Linked DNA regions of Homo sapiens: all the other regions are linked to region 3. Evidence: promoter capture Hi-C in human tissues and cell types (Jung and others, 2019). All regions are on one chromosome and are shown on one strand. The core of a region is centred on a gene start or on the middle of the fragment in contact, and the rest is flanking DNA. Distances in the headings are between cores, read along the strand shown.

Region 1 (3,838 bases), core at 630-3,129, 110 kb before region 3:
CTCACTGAAACCTCCACCTCCCGGGTTGAAGTGATTCTCCTGCCTCAGCCTCCCTAGTAGCTGGTATTACAGGTGCGTGCCACCACACCCAGCTAATTTTTGTATTTTTAGTAGAGATGGGGTTTCACCATGTTGGCCAGGCTGGTCTCAAACTCCTGGCTTCAAGTGACCCGCCTGCCTTGGCCTCCCAAAGTGCTGGGATTACAGGCGTGAGCCACCACACCCAGCCCCATTGTCTTTTTTTTAAGACACTGGTTCTCACTCTGTCACCTAGGCTGGAGTGCAGTGGTGTGATCAAGGCTTACTGCAGCCTCAACCTCTTGGGCTCAAGCAGTCCTCCCACTTTAGCCTCCCATGTTGCTGGGACCACAGGTGCATGCCACCAAGCCCCACTAATTAAAACAAATTTTTTTTTATAGAGAATAGGATGTAGCTATGTTGCCCAGGCTGGTCTTGAATTCCTGGGCTCAAGTGATCCTCCCACCTTGGCCTCCCAAAGTGCTGGGATTACAGGTATGAGCTACTGCACCTGGTCTCTGTCTTCTTTTTTTTTTTTTAAGGCTCTTGTTAGAATGCCGTGAACAGTTGTCTCCAACTATTATATGTCATTCCACGGGATTGGTTTCCTGCTGGCATTCCATGGTCTCCGGGGTCCTCTGCAGCACCTTCCTGGCCTTTTGTCATGTGGATGCTGCACAGCTGACTTCACCTGGTCTTGTTGATGGACAGTTTGTTTCATGATTTCTCTTATGAATAAAACCTTCACAAGCCATCCTTCTCTATGAGAGTGTTTGCTTGGCACGCATTCCTGAGCACTGCCCCTGAGCAGACCGCCTATGATCTCTAAGCTTGGGTTCCGTGTTGCCAAAGCGCCTTCTGGTGGACTCAGCCCAGGAGGAGCCCATGTGCCCCACGCTGGCCATGGCTGTGGTCATGGGCTGACTGCATGTGTCTGACTGGGCCTTCGTCTGAGACTGCAGTGATTTCGCTCCTCCTCTCAGATCCGCAAGGATGCTCTCCGGGCGCTCAACTTTGCGTACACGGTGAGCACACAGCGATCTACCATCTTTCCCCTGGATGGTGTGGTGCGCATGCTGCTGTTCAGAGACTGTGAAGAGGCCACCGACTTCCTCACCTGCCACGGCCTCACCGTTTCCGACGGGTAAGAGCTGAGAATGGAACTGTGGGGCCCCTGTCTCCTTTTTTCTTGTTAATTCTGATGAAGGGCTGTGAAGGGCTGGCTGCTTGCCTGACTTGAAGAAGGTGCATTCCCTCTGCCATGCAGGTGAACACACGAGACTCAGAATGGCTGGGGGTGTTCCCAAGGTCACATCCTGGCTGTCAGCACATTGAGGGCTCAGACCAAGTTCTTTGTGACTCCAAAATCAGTCCTTTTCATGACTTGCTGACAAACCTAAAGATAAAAGTTAGGGCCTTCTTTATTCTTTCCCTTGACTGCCTTTGCCAGCCAATGACGGACAACCTCTGACGGCTGGGATGGAGGCACCCGCAGGCCAGCCGGAGTCTTCTCCGGTACTTACCAGTCAGAGTGGTGAGACTCACAGACGCTCTCTCAGAAACTGGCAGCTTACACTCAACACCCGGTGCCTAGTTCCCCACCCTGTCTCCTCTAACTCCTCACCTGCCTCCTGCCTGTCTCCTCCTTCCAGTTCTGTCTCCTTCTAGTTCTGTCTCCTCCTTCCAGTTCTGTCCTCAGAAAATTAGACGGTTTTGGGTGAGCCAGCAAGGAGGCAGGAGTGAGTCAGCGTGCGTCTGTTAACACGCTGGGCTTAGTGGTTCTAGGGACCTACAGAGGCTCCAGGGTGGGCGGCAGTGGGACCTGGCGCCTGTGCTTTCTGTTATTTACACATGGCTGTGGTGACACCCAAGGGGCTTGCAGTACTCGGCAGGGCACTGAGGGCGAAGCTGTCTTCTCCCCTGGTGACACCCCTCGGGGGTCTTTTGTGGTCTGGGTAGCTGTGTGGAGCTGAACCGGTCTGCATTCCTGGAACCAGAGGGATTATCCAAGACCAGGAAGTCGGTGTTTATTACTAGGAAGCTGACGGTGTCAGTCGGGGAAATTGTGAACGGAGGGCCATTGCCCCCCGTCCCTCGTCATACCCCTGTGTGCAGCTTCAACTCCCAGAACAAGTACATCGGGGAGAGCCTGGCCGCGGAGCTGCCCGTCAGCACCCAGAGACCCGGCTCCGACACAGTGGGTGAGTGAAGCTGCAGTCGTAGTGAGGGGACTAGCTGCATTTTCCCACCAGAACGCCTCCCAGGAGCCTGGGCATCTGCATTTTCTCGCCAGGACGCCTCCCAGGAGCCTGAGCACCTGTCTTGTCTTGGGGCCCAGGGGTGTGGCTCTTCCTCATGCTCAGATGGTTCTCACTGGGAGTGGACTGAGGGCTTTGAAGCCCTCCTCCTGGCTCCCTGACATCCTGGGGCTTGTTTTTCATGCAAAGCGTATGTTGTCCCACGTAGCTGGTCTCCTGGAGGGCAGGCCAGTCCTCAGGGTCACTGTGGGTGGCCTGGGGCTGTCCCTGCACAGACCTCGGTCCCCGTGGTGCCAGGCACCCTGTGTCTGCAGCTATGTTTTGTCCTGTATGTTTCCTTCCAGGCGGAGGGAGAGGAGAGGAGTGTGGTGTAGAGCCGGATGCACCCCTGTCCAGTCTCCCACAGTCTCTACCAGCCCCTGCGCCCTCACCAGTGCCTCTGCCTCCTGTCCTGGCACTGACCCCGTCTGTGGCGCCCAGCCTCTTCCAGCTGTCTGTGCAGCCTGAACCACCGCCTCCAGAGCCCGTGCCCATGTACTCTGACGAGGTAGGGACTCTTTTTTTCTAGGTCTGGACTCTGGGAAGCCCATTGTGCGCAAACGTCCTTAGTCATCACCCCATGAGGTGGGGCTGTGGCGCCTGGTCTCTCAGGAGAGTCCAGAGAGGGGTCCTGCCTAGAGTCACTCAGCCTCAGGTAGGGCCCACCTATTCAGGCTCATTCTGGAGTCCGTCTTCATCTCAGGAGCTTCCTGTCACAGCACCGGCCTGAGCCCGTGTGTCTGAACTCAACACCCGTCTATTCCTGACGGGATCATTGGCAGCATTGTGCGCCCCCTGATGGGTGTGACCTGGGGTGGCGTGTCCGCCTGGTGGGTGTGGCCTGGGTGGGTGTGTCCCCTTGGGTGTGGCCTGGAGTGGGCATGTCCCCCTGATGGGACCCCAATATGCATGGACTGAGTGTGGGTGTGTCCCCTGAAGGGCATGTCCTGGGGTTGGGTGTCCCCACTGATGGGTGTGACCTGGGATGGGCGTGTCCCCTGGCGGGTGTGCCCCCTGATGGGCATGGCTGGGGTGGCTGTGCCCCCTGATAGGCGTGGCCTCGGGGTGGTCGTGTCCCCTCTGGTGTGTGTGGTCTCTGGCTGTGCACCCTGATGGGCATGGCCTGGGGGTGGGTGAGCCCCTTGACCAGCCTGGCCTGGGGGTGGATGTGCCCCTTGATGGTTGTGGCCTCAGGGTGGGCATGGTCCCGACAGGTGCCTTGATATTGAGTAGAGCCTGTCGACTCCATGGTTGTGAGACTGGATTGTGCCACTCTGGCTGCTTCGGGGCAGGCACTGGGCACCAGCCCATCTGGGGATCAGGGAGTGCTTAGGGGGAGCATAGAGTGGTCACAGAAACAGAGGCTGCTTGACGTAGACTGGAGATGGCTAGGCCAGGGCGCTGTGTGGCCATCCGCAGGGCGCCTTCCTCTCCAGATGGCACCTTTCCATTCGCTAGGGGACACCTTTCCTGCAACAGCCTAGCCGACCCCGTGTCAGGGGTTGTGCTTCTGTCACGAGACG
Region 2 (3,641 bases), core at 82-2,581, 88 kb before region 3:
AAAGTGACAAGTGGTACTGGGAGGAACACCAACCCTGATCCTGTCCTGCCTGCCCACAGGGTCCCTGTTTTCAGAACAGACAAGGGGCAAAGAGCATGGGGACCATGTAGCCCTGTCCCCAAGCCGCAGCCATGGCACTCAGTGCTGATTTAACATTCTTTCTTTGTCAAAGAGGCCTTCTTCTATGGCTCTGGCTGTGCCCCTGTTCCTGGCTGAGGTCTTTGGGCTGTTTTGACACAGATCCGACAGGCCATCTGGCTGGCTCAAGCCCAGTATGGCATGGGGCTGCTCCTTCCTATGCACTCAGAAGGGAATGAGCTGCTTATCTGGCAGAAGTTGTGGCATTAGCACAGACACTCCCCTTTGGGCCTCAGGCGCCCTTCTAAATTGTGGTGTGTGGTCTGTAGTAGGTCTAACTCATGCTCATTATTGAAGGAACCCAAAGGGAAGCAAACCACTCAGCACAAGCCCTCGGTGCTCTGGTTAGGTTGGGGTTCCCCAAAATAAGCTAAGACTGCTTATACCAGACTCATCTGGGTGCTTGTTAAAATACAGATTTCCTAGGCACAACCACAGGCCTGTACAGTCAGAACTTCTGGGTAGAACTTGGCTAGCAACACTGTTAAGGGGGACTGTCTGCATCCCTCACCTAGACCCTGGGAGCAAGCTGCTCTTCCCCCTCAACAACTGTGGTTCTGCTGTGTTTAGAAAGCAGACTTCTCAACTTCACAGTTGCCTTCTCCTGAGAAAATGTTTTCATGTACATTTTCACCTGTATTTTGGCCAAACCTGTAACTAATGAGGCACTTTCTCCCCAGCCCCCTGGCTCCCCGTGTGCTCCATGGTTGTCCAGTACGCCTCCCAGATCCCCAGCTCACGCCAGACACAGCCTGTCCTCCAGTCCCAGGTGGAGAACCTGCTCCACAGAACCTACTGTAGGTGGAAGAGCAAGAGTCCCTCCCCAGTCCATGGGGCAGGCCCCTCGGTCATGGAGATCCCATGGGATGATCTTATCGCCTTGTGTATCAACCACAAGCTGAGAGACTGGACGCCCCCCCGGCTTCCTGTTACATCAGGTAATTAGAGCTTGATGCAATGGGATCAGCTCCTCACGAGACTTTCCTGGTCCAGTTTCTGCAAAGGAAGATGTTTAGTTGATGTTGCTGCTTTTCTTTTGGGTCTCTATCCTTCCTTTCCTTAGGACTTCCCTCTTCAAGTGAGTGACTTAAAAACATTGAGACAGGCTAGGAAGTTTCTGGTAGAGCCTGAACTCACCTCCCTGAAACAGGCCCCCTAGGATGGCTCTTAGAGAGGATTTTGTGGCTTTTGAGTAGTCATTACTGGCCCTGCCAGTCTCGATGTAAGCTTGTCTGGACTTTGAGTGATGCATGGACCCTGGGAGCCTATTTAACCCAAGTGTGGAAGTCACATAATTGTGTGACTTTAATCAAAGGTCTTGCACTTAAATCAGTGAATTTAAGCACATGCCACCTGTCGCTGTTTAAATATTATTTGTACCTGTTTTTGTTTTTTTGTGTGTGTTTTTTTTTTTTTTGAGACAGGGTTGGCCAGGCTGGCCTCTTTATCTGTTTTTGTATTGTTTTCTCAGAGGCGCTGAGTGAAGATGGTCAGATATGTGTGTATTTTTTTAAAAACGATTTGAAAAAATATGATGTTCCTTTGTCGTGGGAACAAGCCAGGTTGCAGACGCAGAAGGAGCTACAGCTGAGAGAGGGACGGTGAGGTTCATGTTCAGTATGTTTCTGTTGCTTGCTAAACTGTATTTTTCTTGCAAAGTAAATAGAAATTAACATCCTACATGCCAAATCCAGTCCACTGTGGGCAGACTGTGACAAATCCTCAAGGAACAGATCATTCCCATGCAGTAGAAACTATTCTAGAACAAAGTTAAAGCATCTCACTTCATTTATCAGGCATACCTGACCCTGAAATCATACCTAACCAGGAGAGTACAGCTGACATTTCATCTCACTTCCAAATTTGGTTCCAAAGCACAGTACCTAAAAAAGTTCACAAGTATGCTTTCTCCCAGGATAAACAATAACAGTGAAAATCTATTAATGTAATTTGTTGCCATAATAGAAAAATAAGTGGTAATTTTAGCAGGCGTTGAAATACGTTTCTTAAAATTTATACCTGTTCCTGATAAAATTTCTTTATTTTGGGTACTTTCTTTAGCTTGGGTTAAAAAAAAAAAAAGTCCTAACTTGATAAGGCTACCTAACATAAAACTACCAAAATAGAAAAAAAACATGCTTCTTGGTAGAATGTTAGGAACAGTGGAATCAGAACCAGCCTGTTGTCCCGACTATTATTCACTATTGTCCTGGAAATCCTGACCAGTACAGGGATGTGGGATAGACAGGCACAAATACTGAAAGGAAGGAGAAACTGTCATTTCCAGACAGTACAGTTGTCAGTCCAAGAAAAGTCAAGTCCATAGAACCATTCTCAGTTCAATAAGGTGATCAGATAGATAGATCCACAACATGTTAAAAAAAAAAAAATTCTCATTCACAACAATAAACCTGAACAGAAAGGGCACAGGATGGTGGAACTTTGCTGTTCCTTCTTGTTCCCCATAGAGATCCTTGAAGTACCTTCTCCAACTCCATGATACTCTAAAAACTGTTCATCTTCATAATAGGAGTGGAGCCTAATCCTTGGTCTCCTCACCTCCTGGTTTCCCGGAATGTCTTTCTCATTAACATATGAGTTCTCAGGGCCTGTATGTGCAAAGGAAACCTGAACCATTGAGGTTCAGACTAGGTTGTTGACAGGATACAATGCTGTGAAGATGTCAGTACTGGTAAGTTCTAAAATTCATCAGGATAAACAAATATGCATCAATTGCTGAGAAAGTTTTAAATAAGACTAACATGGTTTGCTTGGCCTGATACCAAGACATACAGTAAAGCTCCAGTACTTAAAACCATGTGGGGATGCCAGAGTAGATAAATGGATCAGAATAAAGAGTCAGAATATGTGACAAAAGTGTTAGGCCAAATTATTGAAATTAGTGGGGAAAAGACAAACATTGGCATGTGTTTAGAAAAAAATGTCAGATGCCTTCTCTCTCACCATTTGTAAACATTACTTCCAAATGTATCCAAGAGCTATCTATAAAAAACCTTGCCAATACTAGGGAAGAACAGAATCTGGAACCCTAGGGTGGGAAGCAAGACATGAAGCAGAGAAGCTCCAAAAACCTAGCTGCCTCTTGAGAGCAGAAGCTTCCAAGAGGAACAGGCAGTCTCAATGCCTCTGTGCATAAGGGTCCCTACAGTGCAGGGGCTGCCTTCCCTCTTTGCTCCACTCCCTGACTTGATGGAAGCTTGGAAGCAGGCATGGGGCCAGCATGAGCTGTTCCAGGAGGGCACATGTGTCTGAGGCACATGTTCTTACATGTTAATGCACATGTGCAAATGTATCTACATGCTTTACATGATGCTGTAGAAATATTTTCTCTTGACCATAAACATTTCAAATCATGTACTTACAGTTTGGCAATAAAGCCTTTTCATCCTTCTGCAAACAATTTTCCCATACCATTGCTTCACATGCACCGTAACTGGAAGAGGAGCACAGAGTGTGCTCAAGAGGGGAGGATTCCCAGCACA
Region 3 (3,856 bases), core at 875-3,374:
ACAGAGCTCTGACCCCATCCTCCCCTCCTGGTCTCCCTCCAGACACAGATCCCTGACCCCATCCCCCACTCCCAGCCTCCAGACGTGGAGCCCTGGCTGGGGAACTCTGTGTGCTCCCAGCCTCTGAAGGTTTCTGGGCTTACCTGGCTCCTGTCTCATCCCAGTCCCCCTGAGTAGCCACGGAGGTGGGGTCCCTAAGGCCCACATGGTTGGGGTTCCATTAAGAACTTCAAGTGGGTGGCTCACGCCTGTAATCCCAGCACTTTGGGAGACCGAGGTGGGTGGATCATGAGGTCAAGAGATCGAGACCATCCTGGCCAACATGGTGAAACCCCATCTCTACTAAAAATACAAAAAATTAGCTGGGTGTGGTAGCGGGTGCCTGTAGTCCCAGCTACTCTGGAGGCTGAGGCAGGAGAATGGCGTGAACCCGGGAGGCAGAGCTTGCAGTGAGCCAAGATCGCACCACTGCACTCCAGCCTGGGCGACAGAGCGAGACCCTGTCTCAAAAAAAAAAAAAAAAAAAAAAAAGAACTTCAAGTGGGGCTGGGCTCAGTGGCTCACACTTGTAATTCCAGCACTTTGGGAGGCCGAGGCAGGAGGATCGCTTGAGCCCAGGAGTTTGAGACCAGCCTGGGCAACGTGGTGAGACCTCATGTGTATTTGTCTGATAAAGACATACGCAAGACTGGGTAATTTTTAAAGAAAAAGCAGTTTAATGGACTCAACAGTTCCACAATCATGGTGGAAGGTGAAAGAGGAGCAAAGTCACGTCTTACAAGAGGGTGTGTGCAGGGGAACTGCCCTTTATAAAACCATCGGATCTCGTGAGACCATTCACTATCACAAAAACAGCACCGGAAAAAGCCGCCCCCGTGATTCAGTGACCTCCCACCGGGTCCCTCCCATGACGTGGGAACTATGGGCTCTACAATTCAAGATGAGATTTAGGTGGGGACACAGCCAAACCATATCACCATGTCTACCAAAAATGGAAAAGTTAGCCAGTGTAGTGGTGTGTGCCTGTGGCCCAGATGCTCAGGAGGCTAAGGTGAAAGGACCTCTTGAGCCTGGGGACCAAGGCTGCAGGAAGCCATGATTGTGCCGCTGCACTCCAGCCTGGCTGACAGAGTGAGACTTTGTCTCAAAAAAAAAAAAAAGAGAAAATGATAAAAGCACTGCAAGTGGGCAGCGGCTGAACGTGGAGACAGGAGTTCTCCCTTCTGAGCACGGCCCTGGTGCCGCTGACTTCGTGGGGAGCCTGTAGTCAGGGGAGCAGCAGCTGGGGAGAGCTGGGGTCTCAGCTGCCTTCCCCCATATCGCACATGCCCGTCTCGTGTGTATCTGCACTCTCACACGCGTGTTCCCCTGCCCTGCGCTCACATGTATCTGCACTCACTCTCACATGCTTGCTTCCCCTGCCCCATGCTCACGTGTACCTGCACTCTCACACGTGTGCTCCCCTACCCCACACTCACATGTATCCTCGCTCACTCTCACACGTGTTCCCCTGTCCTGTGCTCACATGTATCCACGCTCTCACACATGTGCTCCCCTGCCTTGTGCTCACGTGTATCTGCACTCTCACGTGTTCCCCTGCCCTGCCCTCACGTGTATCCTCACTCACTCTCACACGCGTGCTCCCCTGCACTCTCCTGTCTGAGCTGAGCTGACCTCAGTTGGGTGCTGCGAGCCAGGGCCTCATGCTGGCCTCTCGCCCTCCACAGCCCCAGGGGTCCAGGCTCCTCCAGGAACAAACGCAGGCCCCACGGGCTGCCTGGAAGGCCTCCCAGAAGGCAGCACAGGGTCACGAGGGTCACCCGCAGTGGCACAGGGAGGCCTCGTCACGACAGGATTCCAGCCAGGCTGGCCTGATGCTCCTGGGGGTCCTCGGCACATGCCCCTTCACCCTGGCATGTGCTTCTTTTCCGGGAACCCACACTCTGGCTGAGTGGAGCCATCCCCTCTGGGTCAACAGCACCCGGGGTGGCTCTGCAGCACCCCACTCCGCGGCTGCACAGGGACCTTGGCCCCACTGCTCCTTGTGCCTTGCTGGTTAATGAGAAGCCGGTGGGGAGGTGCTGCCGGTGAGCGTATAAAGGCCCTGGCGGCGGCTGCGGAGCACTGGCCCTGTCCTTCCATCTGCCCAGAGAGGAGCATCTGGATCAAGGTGCTGGCCATGTCCCAGCTGGTGGAATGCGTCCCCAACTTTTCGGAGGGGAAGAACCAGGAGGTGAGGCCCGAGGAGCTGGTCAAGCATCTAGGGCTGATGGGGCAGCTTGAGTGGCTAAGGCCCAGGCCATGGAGGAGGTGGTGGGCTTGGTGTCCCGGGTCGTCTTCCCAGGATGGGCAGAGCCGCTGCCCGTGGGCCCCAAGGACATCCCGTGGCTCAGGGCCCTGGGGAGTGCCTGACCCAGGGGTGGGTGGAACACGACTGGTGCTTGTGGGGGCTGAGGCTTGGCTGTGGCTTCAGGGGCCTTTCGGGTGCTTTCGGTGGGGGGTTGGGCAGATCTCTGGGCCTCAAAGGGCCTTGGTGCTCCCCCCTGAAAATGGGGCTCCTGCCACTGACTGAAAGGGCTGTGTGAGGCCACACGAGGTGGCCCAGCATGGTCCCCACTGCCGCCTCTCCATCTCCACTGGAGTTAGCTTGCTGAGCCCCCACCCTGCAGCCACCATCCTCACTGGACCCAAAACGAAGTAGGCACAGAGGGGGCAGCAGGCCCCCAGGTCCGGCCTCTCGCCTTCCACAGCCCTGAGGTCCAGGCTCCTCCGGGAACAAACGCAGGCCCTAAGGGCCACCTGGAAGGCCTCCCAGAGCGCAGCACCAGGCCACAGGGGTCACCCGCAGGGGTGCAGGGAGGCCTCGTCATGCCGGGATTCCAGCCAGCACCAAGGCCCTGGGACAGGGCAAGATTTGGGGCTGAGCCCCTGCTCCCAGCAGTCCTGCCACCCGGAAGGTTCTAGGCCCTTCAGGCCCCTCCCCCATGCTGGTGATCTGTCCCTCCCCTGCTCGGGGGTGGGGGTCCCGGCCCCTCTGTGACCTGCGCCTGTGGTCACCTTCTTGGATCCCCGGCCACGTCTCTGGCATCTGTCTGTCGGAGCAGAGCCCGTGAGTCTCTCCTGGAGGCACCACCTGCAGCCCCTTGTGGGGACTGTGCTTGGGCTGGAGTGACTGTGGCTGCTGTGAGGGTTCCCGGGCGGCCGCTGTGTGCGGGCACTTTCGGTGGGAGCTCAGCTTGTCGGAGAGCCCCCAAAGGCTTGGCCCGCCTCCTCAGCCCCCATTTGTGTCTCGGGGTGCAGCCACCTCCAAGCTCCTTTTCCTTCTTTCAAACGGGGAGACTGAGGTGTGGGGGCCGGGCCTGTGTCCCAGGTGATCGACGCCATCTCTGGAGCCATCACACAGACCCCGGGCTGCGTGCTGCTGGATGTGGACGCAGGCCCTTCCACCAACCGCACCGTGTACACCTTCGTGGGGCCGCCGGAGTGCGTGGTGGAGGGGGCCCTCAACGCTGCCCGGGTAGCTTCCCGACTTATCGACATGAGCAGGCACCAAGGTGAGGTCTCTGGGCTCTCCTGTGGCTGCCGTGTCTCAGAATGTCAGGGCCGAGCCCTGTCCTGGTGTCCTGGGAGAGGGGGTAGGCCCGGGGCCCAGGCTTGGAACGTGGGGTCCAGTGGGGCTGGCTCTGGCTCTCCTAGGAGGACCCTGGAGTGTGGGGGTCATGGCCCCCATCCTGCCTGCAGGGCTGTGCTCTGGGGGACCCCCAGGTCGCCACGCTCCCACAGCACCGGGCCACCTTCACGGCTGGGTGGGGGGAGGGGGCCACGCCGGGGAAGGTTTGTGGGCCCCGTCCACCTG
Region 4 (3,612 bases), core at 357-2,856, 120 kb after region 3:
GTGTGTCAGCTGCCCCCTCCCAAGCCCGGTGTTTGGTGGTTCTGTATGCTTCCAACGCTTGTACTGATGGTTTAATTTTGAACATTTTGGTGAGTGTGTAGTGGTAACTCGTTGTAATTTTAAATGTATATTTTCCTGATAACTAATGGTTTTAAGCACTTTTCAGATGGTTATGGATCTTTTGGATAACCTCTTTGTTATCCAAAAGAAGTTAGGAAGTAAATATAAAAGCTAAGACAACACAAATCTATTAGTTTACATTGCAATGAAAGTCCACGTGGGTCTCACTGGACTAAAACCAAAGTGCCTACAGGCTCCATCCCCTCCTGGGGCTCCAGGGAGAACCCCTGTCCTCGCCTTTTCCAGCTCCAGCTCCGAGCCCAGCTTCTGCCTGTGTCCGTGGCTTGCAGCCCCTTCTCCTAAGCTATGTGGTGGATGTGTGTCTCCTCCAAATCTCATTGTGAAGTATGATCCCACTGTTGGAAATTCAAGGAACGCAGCATTGTCAAAACCATCTGGAAAAGTAAGAACCAATTTGGGTCACTCACACGTCCCAGTTTCAAAGCCACAGTAATCAGGGTGGCATGGTGCTGGCTTAAGGACGGACACACGGAAAAACGGAACAGAGTAGGGTCCAGAGACAAACCTTCACACTTGTAGTCCGTTGATTTTCAGCAAGGGTGATGCACATTCAATGGGAGAGAAAGTCTATTTGACAAACGGTGGGGGGTCAACTGCATAGTCATGTGCAAAAGCATGGATTTATGTTCCACCTCACACCAGATGCAGAAATTAACTTAGATGAATCAATGACCTAAACCTCATAGAAAACACAGAGGCAGCCATCATCAGGACCTTGGATTAGGTAATGGTTCATTAGCAATGACATCAAAAGCACAAGCTACAAAAAAAAAAAAAAAGATAAATCAGGCTTCGTAAAAATCAAACATTCTGTCCTTCTGAAGGCACTTGAGAAAATTAAAATATAACTCACAAAATAGGAAAAACATTTGCAAATCACATATGTCATAACAGTCTATAATCCAGGATATATGAAGAATTGCTACAACCCTGTAATAAGAAGACCAAGAACCCACTTTAGAAGTGAACAAAGGACTCGGCGAGACACTGCTCCAAAGAAGACTTACAAACTGCTAATCCACATGTGGAAACGTCTTCGACGTTGTTAGACGTCAGGGAAATGTCAGGAAACACCACAGTGAGGTACTGCTTCGCGTTCACCAAGACAGCTGCGCTAAAGGACACCCAGCTCTTCCTCTCCTAGGCCCAGGCCAAGAGAACTGAAAACAACCACCACACGCTCACACAAAGGCACAGCAGCATCACTCAGCTGATAGGTGCCCATCGATTGGTGAATGGACGAACGCGATGTGGTGTAGCCGCAGAGTAAACTGTTACTCACCCACAGCCGGAAGTGAGGTACTGACACGTGCCACAGCTCTGTTCTCTGAGTGCTTCTGTGACCCTCGGAGTCATCTTTTATCTTTCATAAGAAATGACCAGTGTTTGCAGCTGAGGTTTGTTGTTGTTTTATCTACTTCCTTCTTGTAGAAGTGCAGGGGCCCAAAGACTTCTTGTAAGTTGGTATCGTCTCTGTTCCTTTTAGATAAAGTTGATATGATTCCTTTAGAAATATTGTGGGTTTTAGTTTATATAAATTGCATTAGATAAAAGCCATACCTGCTGGATGTGGTGGCTCATGCCTGTAATCCCAGCACTTTGGGAGGCCGAGGTGGGCGGTTCACGAGGTCAGGAGATCGAGACCATCCTGGCCAACCTGGTGAAACCCCGTGTCTACTAAAAATACAAAAGTTAGCTGGGTGTGGTGGCGCGTGCCTGTAATCCCAGCTATGTGGGAGGCTGAGGCAGGAGAATCGCTTGAACCTGGGAGGCGGAGATTGCAGTGAGCTGAGATCGCACCACTGCACTCCAGCCCAGCCACAGAGTGAGACTCTGTCGGGGAAAAAAAAAAAAAAAAGGCCACACCTAAAAAAGATTCTTCTGTACCTTAGGTTCTCTGTGAGGCTACTGTGGGATGGTGATCTTCAGATTCTTAGAATATCTATTGGTTAACATAAAAGGCACATCTGTACGATCCTTAGAAAGTCACTTATTTGAAATGGTCTTTGAGGCATTACTTTAAATATTTCTGAGGCTGTCTTTAGTCCTTTTGTGCTGCTATAACAAATGCCACAGACTGTAATTTATAAAGATCAGAAATTTATTTCCTACAATTCTGGAGGCTGAGAAGTCCATGATCAAGGCACCAGAATCTGGTGAAGGGCTTCGTGCAGTGTCCTTACACGGTGGAGAGTGGAAGGGAAATCCACTCCCCAAAGCCCTTTTTACAACACAGATGCATTCATGAGGATAGAGCCCTCATGACCTAAACACCTCCCAACAGGCCCCACCTCCCAGCACCACCGCACTGGGGACCAATTTGCCAACACATGAATTTTGTGGAACACATTCAGACCACAGCAGAGGTCTTAACTAGGGACCTCTTAAGACCCTATTTAAAATAGTCCTATCCTTGGTTTTATATTACTCTGAGACCATGTTATCTGAACAGTGACCTGGATTTGATTTTTATCCTTAAGCTTGATTTTACTTTGAGAATCATATTCTGGCAAGACAGACTGTTCCTCTATAATTTCTCTAAATTTTACTTGAAAATTGAAAAGTTTCTCAGTTCACCTCTTTGCTCTTGAATTTTATTACAGGCAGCTGAAAGAATCCAGGAAGCATCTTCAACACCCCCTGCCCAGAAATTGCCTTAGCTAGGTCATCAGTTTATTAGGAATATTTTCTATTTTCCATGTTCCCTCAGGTGACAGTGTTGCCAAACTTCCACACCATGTAACAAGAACTCCCTTTATCTCCACTTCCAAGAACATTTTAATTACTTCTCTTTAAACTCTAACCAGTAGCCTTATCAAGGCCCATCAGATTTCTGCCCGCTGTCTACTTCCCAAATTAACAAAATTTCAGGTTTTTTTTTTTTCAGCAGAATCCAACTTCCAGCTACCAAAAATCTTAACAATAATTTTGTGTCAGATGTGTGGCTTCATCTTTACTCTGAGACTACATTTTGCTGACAATGACCTGGGTTTTATTTTTGCCCTGAGGACCTTTCTTGCTTTGAGAGCTCTCTGCTGCCTGGAGACATTGTTCTGAGCCCACTATAGTTTTTCTAAAGTCCAGTTTAAAACAACAGTTCATTCTTTTAGGACACATTCAATTATTCTTATTATACCTTCACTCTTGAGTAAAACCTTAGCTGGGTATAAAATAGGTTGTAGTTGGAGCTATTTCTTCATTGTTTTCTTGATTCTATTCATCTGGATGAGAAGTCTGCTGTTGATCTAATTGTTCCTTTGCAGGTTATTCCATCCTTATCCCTGAGGTTCTGTAGTTAAACTCTAATGTATGAGTGTGTGTGGAGGGGGGACAGGGGGTTGGGTGCTATTTTTTCTGCTTAAAACTTGGACTCTGCTTTATATCTGAGGTAAGGAAAGTGAGTGAGCTCCTTGAGATCACACTTAAGGTTGGCACAGAGCCAGAATGAGAACCGAGGCCCCTGGACGACTC

Evidence for each region. Contacts are between HindIII fragments. The study calls those that stand out against the background at their distance.
Region 1: a fragment that was not itself captured here is called in contact with the fragment with the promoter of FTCD in region 3 in 2 of the 25 tissues and cell types used here (mesenchymal stem cells and spleen).
Region 2: a contact is called between a fragment that was not itself captured here and the fragment with the promoter of FTCD in region 3, in 5 of the 25 tissues and cell types used here (IMR-90 fibroblasts, dorsolateral prefrontal cortex, lymphoblastoid cells and 2 more).
Region 4: a contact is called between a fragment that was not itself captured here and the fragment with the promoter of FTCD in region 3, in 2 of the 25 tissues and cell types used here (H1 embryonic stem cells and mesenchymal stem cells).

Annotation. Positions count from the first base shown.
Region 1 is chr21:46,264,306-46,268,143 of GRCh38, reverse strand. It overlaps MCM3AP (minichromosome maintenance complex component 3 associated protein), which reads left to right. Exons shown (of 28, transcript NM_003906.5): 10 at 1,002-1,162; 11 at 1,978-2,219; 12 at 2,621-2,823. Among named protein-coding and RNA genes, the nearest start is that of MCM3AP, 19 kb to the left of the region's middle. The HindIII fragment of the contact is 5,088 bases long and covers 1-3,838 here.
Region 2 is chr21:46,240,900-46,244,540 of GRCh38, reverse strand. MCM3AP (minichromosome maintenance complex component 3 associated protein) reads left to right here. Exons shown (of 28, transcript NM_003906.5): 24 at 819-1,076; 25 at 1,610-1,739; 26 at 3,524-3,641. It overlaps MCM3AP-AS1 (MCM3AP antisense RNA 1), which reads right to left. Exons shown (of 4, transcript NR_110565.1): 3 at 3,522-3,641. Among named protein-coding and RNA genes, the nearest start is that of MCM3AP-AS1, 13 kb to the right of the region's middle. The HindIII fragment of the contact is 7,439 bases long and covers 1-3,641 here.
Region 3 is chr21:46,153,847-46,157,702 of GRCh38, reverse strand. It overlaps FTCD (formimidoyltransferase cyclodeaminase), which reads left to right and starts at 2,124. Exons shown (of 14, transcript NM_206965.2): 1 at 2,124-2,233; 2 at 3,371-3,554. The coding sequence starts at 2,180. RefSeq lists enhancers at 2,351-3,054, 3,055-3,758, 3,759-3,856. The HindIII fragment of the contact is 26,017 bases long and covers 1-3,856 here.
Region 4 is chr21:46,029,474-46,033,085 of GRCh38, reverse strand. No RefSeq gene overlaps it. Among named protein-coding and RNA genes, the nearest start is that of COL6A1, 50 kb to the right of the region's middle. The HindIII fragment of the contact is 8,914 bases long and covers 1-3,612 here.